Regions from separate parts of the Homo sapiens genome. Here region 1 is linked to region 2. Evidence: promoter capture Hi-C in human tissues and cell types (Jung and others, 2019). All regions are on one chromosome and are shown on one strand. Each heading gives the region's core, a stretch centred on a gene start or on the middle of the fragment in contact. The rest is flanking DNA. Distances are from core to core; before and after follow the strand shown.

Region 1 (2,700 bases), core at 73-2,572, 55 kb before region 2:
AGCTATTTCAACCCTAGTTATTTATTTAAGGATAATATGAAACATATGGTCACAAGAAGACCTATACAACGTTCTAGCCAGAAAATAGAGGCCAGGTGTCCATTACAGGAGAACGGACAAACAAATGGCGGTGTTTTCTTACAAACGGAATGGTGTGGTACTCTGCAACAAAAACGAATGAATTACTCATACACAGAACAGCACTTGCAACTCTCAGGAACAGGATGCTGGGTGAAAGGAGCCTTACCCAAAGTGCATATGCCATGTGGTTCCATTGATACGAAATGCTGTAGGTTGCTGCAAAAGTAATTGCGGCTTTTGCCATTACTTTTACACCAACCTATAGAACAAGCAGAACCAATTTACGATGGAAAAACTCAGAACATTGGTTCCTTCTGGAGAGATTGGAACAGGGTTTGATCAGGAAAGGGCATAAGGTAATTTTCTAGGTGATGGTCATGTTGTATACATCAGTAGGGTTTTGGGTTACACACATGTATCTATTCGTCAAAACTCGGCAACTAATCACTTGAGATTTGTACATTTCATGATGTATCAGCTTTATAGCAGAAGGAAAAACTAAGCCAGTGTTGAGCTCTGTTAATGATATGCACACTGGAGGGTTTGGGGTCGGGGCATGATAGCTACAATAGTCTTTGAGTTCTATAAAATATCTGACAGATTAATAGATGGGCAGATGAACACATTAGGTGGTAATGCAAATATAGTATAATGTTAACAGTAGCGTCTCTTAATGGGCATATGGGGGGTGTTCAGTGTAAATCTTTTTCACCTTATATTTGAAATTTTTTAGAAGAAATTGTTGGCAAAAATAAAAGTAAAAATAGCTAAGCTCTTCTTTTCTGCCCACCTCATCCCATCTTCTTTTCTCTTTCCTTCCTCTTTAAGGTAATTTCTTTCTTAGAGGTGATGGTATCATTCCACATCCATGTTTTACTACTTTATTGTATAGACATATATCCCCACCCAAACATTATTTTGACAGTTTTTTTGTTTTTTGGTTTTTTGTTTTTTTGATACAGAATCTCGCTCTGTCACCCAGGCTGGAGTGCAGTGGCACAGTCCTGGCTCACTGCAACCTCCACCTCCTGGGTTCAAGCGTTTCTCCTGCCTCAGCCTCCTGAGTAGCCAGGATTACAGACACCTGCCACCACGCCCGGCTAATTTTTGTATTTTTAGTAGAGATGGGATTTCACCATGTTGGTCAGGCTGGTCTTGGACTCCTGACCTTGTGATCCGCCCGCCTCGGCCTCCCAAAGTGCTGGAATTACAGGCAAGAGCCACTAGGCCTGGCCGAGAGTCTTTTTTTCAATGGCATAAGTGGTTCCATATCATATATGTCCTTTTAAAACTTTAAAAATCAGCGTTATTCTTTGGAGCTAAATATAAATCTGGTTCTTTCATTTGAACTGCTATTAATATTTCATTGTGTAAATATGCCACTTTATTCATTTCCATGCTAATGCACTCACTGTGAGGTGGCTTCCAGGGTATTCATATTTAATGTGATTATTGTTAATGACACGCATGAATGTCAAGCCAGGCCCTGCAGCCTTGTAGCAGGTCCTGTTTGGGCTGCTGGAAGCTAGAGATTCAATGGCTTGGGGGACATTTATGGCCTGCCTTTGAGAGGTGCCAGAAAATCCTCCTTCCCAAGATCCCTTGGAAAGGACTTGTCACTTGGGTGTGGGTATGCGCGTGGGGCTGGTGTATGCTTCTGTGTGTATGAGCCGTGAGGGCTGTGGCTGGATGCTGCGGCACCTCAGGTTCCTCAGGATGAGGACAGGTGCCTTCAGGGAGCATCGATGCATCCTCTGGGGTCTACGCCTTTGGCAGTGCTGGGTCCAGTGCTGCTGCATAGGGAACTGTCAGCCCTCGGACTGCTCTTTCTTATCTAAATAACTTGATGTAGTCCAAGATCCCAGAGAACATAAATCTGGTCGTCTTATGACACTAGTATAAAACACTTTAAAGAAATTATAAATTGCTAAGCTTGTCCTGTATAGTAAGCTTGACTCATTCTTGGCAATGTGAGGCTGATGACATTAACAATCCCAGCTGCAAATAATCACAATTTAGTCTTGTGCTTCAGGCTTTTTTGTTATTAAGTTTTTGCTTAAATTCTCATTTCTGAATGCTTCTAACTCGAATATTCTTTTATTTATTCATAAAATATTCATTCAATAAATATTGATACTTCAGCAATTTGCTGTGTGGTAAGCCCCGTGTCAGGCTTCAGGCGTGCTGAGAAGAATAAATAAGGGCCCCTCCTCGCTGGGGATTGGCAACACATTGGGACAAGTGTCTAACCCAGCCAGAGCGGCTGCCCTTTTCTGCCTGACAAGGGCATCTTGCTGTCCCGGGCCGGGTGGGAGCGTTGGGTGAACTAGAGGTCATGAGGTTACGTCCATCTGGGAAGTCATCTTAGGCGCTTCCCCTGCTGTGCCCACTGCTGGGGATACCCATGAATCCATGCAACTCTGCCCTGAGCCCTAGAATGCATGATTCCCCTCCCCTCCCTTTCCCAAACCTCTCTCAGTGCCTCACCGGCCTCCTGTGGGTCAGATGCACACTCGGCCTCCGTGGAGGGGTTGTGCAGAGCAGTGCAGGTGGAGGAAGTGGAAATGGCTCTACCTTACTTCGCAACGCCGGACAGCACCTTACAGACCTCAGACCTGG
Region 2 (2,761 bases), core at 212-2,711:
TATTCCTAAATGTCAGTGACTATAAGCATGAGTTGACATCTTCTTACATTACATGTCAACGAGAGGTTGGCTGGGGCCTTGGGACCCTGCCCTGCATGACAGTGCTTTTTTTTTTTGAAGACACAGTCTCATTCTGTTGCCCAGGCTGCAGTGCAGAGGTACCATCTCGGCTCACTGCAACCTCCACCTCTGGGGTTCAGGCAATTCTCGTGCCTCAGCCTCCCACGTAGCTGGGACTACAGGCATGTGCCAACACACCTGGCTAATTTTTTTTGTAAATTAGTAGAGACGGGTTTCACCATGTTGTCCAGGCTGGTCTCGAACTCCTGAGCTCAGGCAATCCACCTGCCTCGGCCTTCCAAAGTGCTGGGATTACAGGCGTGAGCCACCGCGCCCAGTGTCTACATGACATTTCTACCCCAGGAGTCAGGTCAGCCAACATCTTGTACTTATGACGGGAGAAAGAAAGGGAGCCATACCACGTGGTGGTCCAGCGTGCTTCTGATCCAGTGTGGCATATGTCACTCTGCTCAGGTCCCGTGGCCAAGGACCTGTGGCCAAGCCTGACATCCACGAGGTGGGGACATTCTCCCATGGTGGCTACCCTGAGCGAGGCCCCGTGGTGCGGGACTCCCTCGGCTGCACGGCGAAGTGGCTCTGTGGGCTGCCTGCGGGGCCTGCCTGGCTGGTTTCTCCTTGTTCCTCCCTGTAAGGTCAATGCTTCTGAGCACCAAAGCCCTGCCTTTGGGCCAGCACCCCGCCCTCAGCCGCACATCAACACCTCTGCGGCCTCTTCTATCTCCTTTTGAATTGTATTATTGCTCTTAGGTGCTCTTGTAATGCTGGACAAATTCTCTGTGAATAAGGGAAAAAATTGAAGCATAAATCATCCGGAGAGTAGCATTTTCTAATTTGGATGTGTGGCAAAACAACTCTGGGTGATTTTTATTCTTTATTTTCAACACAGAATTTCTCTGACAGGCCATCGTCAGCTGCTATAGAGCAATAAATCAGAGTCATCTTTTCCGGGTGAAATGGGCTTAATTTCTCATCCTTTTGTTCGTGTTTCCCTTCCTCTTCTACCGCATGGCACTTGTAATCCTAATGATGCTGTGATGAGATATGATGGTCAGAGCCTCAGACTTATCAGGATGGGCTGACAAATCGTGGAGATCCGCACTGGTCCCACACCCGCCTCTGCTCAGGCGGGCAGGATGTAGATCTGCAGACTGGACCAGCTCAAGTTGATAGCCCCGTAGCATGCAGAGAAAGGAGCACTTTCCAGACCGCGGGGCCCAGAGGCTCAGGTCCAAAGCTTTGTGTGACCTCTGGGCTTGGCTTTTTGTACAATGAGAGCTTTGGACTAGGTGGTCTTCAAGGTCAACTGTAAAATCCTTGACACCACAGACAGGGTTCCAGTGGGCACCTGCCTTAAGGTGCGTGCCAGCCTCTGTGGAAGAGTGTTCATCCTTCTTTCTAGGGCTGTGGTTGTGGGTGATTGCACTAGGAAAGACTTGCAGAAACTGTCATTGTGGATATTTGCCACGTCATTAACCTCAGTCTCCTCCTCTGTGAGATGGGGATGTCAGGATCCAGCTCCTATGGTTGCGGTGAGGATTACGTGTATGCTCGGCTCTACTGCAGCTGGTGTTCAGTGAGTGGCAGTTGTCTATGGTTAATATTCTCATTTTTCAGATTAGAAAACTGAGCCTCATGAGGTCGAAGTGTTTCCCGAGGATCTCACAGCTTGCGGTTATAGAGGTGGGGTTAGAATCATCTAGAAGCTCTTTTCCTCACCCCTTTGGGGCAGTTTGGGAGGTGGGAGGACAAGAGCCAGGGCCTCGGGGTTGCTTCCTGGACAGACAGGGAACAGGCTCCATGACCTGAGGGCTGATTCCAGCAGGGTGGGCACCCTGCATGTGCCTTTTTCCATACCTATGAAAGGGGGCACCACCGAGTGCAGAGTCAATGAGCTAATGCAGGTGTCCAGCGTACACTGAGCACTCAACAGTGTTGCTGTCGTCGTGATTTCATCCTCATAACCCTTGGGTGGCCCCGTTTTCGCCTCCTTCCCTGTTTTGAGCGTCTCCTCAGAGGGTCTCATCTATGAGACAGCGGTGGAATGAGGCTGGGTTTCTAAGGGAGCTCCAGCTCTGGAAGGCCGGTTACTAGGATTGGTTGAAAACGAAATCTCATTGCAAAATAAGTTCCCTCCTCCATGGGGCTAAACACGGGGGATGCTCCTTATTGTATTTGACGGGTCTAGAAGGATCAAGATGGCCTTTGAATATTAATCTGTCACTGGTACCATTTTGTCTGTTTGATGTCTAGGATGGAAAAAAGAGGGGTGTGACTATCTCCTGTCTGATGCGAGCATTGCTGCTTGGAAAGCAGAACAGAAGTCCCTTTCCAAGGCTTGGCTCTAGTCATCGACCCCCTTGTTTTCCCTGTGATCCTGAGCCACCCACCTGCCCTACCGACACCACGGGAGAAGTTGACTGGCGAGAACCGTGTTGTGTGAGCGCGCTGGCCTTGCCACTGCTCACCTTGGCTGTATCTTGTTCACGTTACACATCAACTCCCGGCTGGCGCAGCCCCACTGCCCCACACTATAAGCCTTCCCATCTCAGGAGTTGGGATGGAGGGGTAAACATGCATTAAGATAGTGCGTAGAAGGCTTAAGGGTCTCAGCTCTTCCTGAGTGTCACCCCCTTGGCTGTCACCTCTTAGGCATCTGGGAGGTCCCAGAAATAAGAGAAGT

The links. Contacts are between HindIII fragments. The study calls those that stand out against the background at their distance.
Region 1: a fragment that was not itself captured here is called in contact with the fragment with the promoter of C8orf17 in region 2 in 2 of the 25 tissues and cell types used here (H1 embryonic stem cells and pancreas).

What each region holds. Positions count from the first base shown.
Region 1 is chr8:139,984,579-139,987,278 of GRCh38, reverse strand. The region is part of intron 19 of TRAPPC9 (trafficking protein particle complex subunit 9); the gene reads left to right. Among named protein-coding and RNA genes, the nearest start is that of C8orf17, 55 kb to the right of the region's middle. The HindIII fragment of the contact is 4,998 bases long and covers 1-2,700 here.
Region 2 is chr8:139,930,120-139,932,880 of GRCh38, reverse strand. C8orf17 (chromosome 8 putative open reading frame 17) reads right to left here and starts at 1,461. Exons shown (of 1, transcript NR_172942.1): 1 at 1-1,461. All of the region lies in intron 19 of TRAPPC9 (trafficking protein particle complex subunit 9), which reads left to right. The HindIII fragment of the contact is 16,447 bases long and covers 1-2,761 here.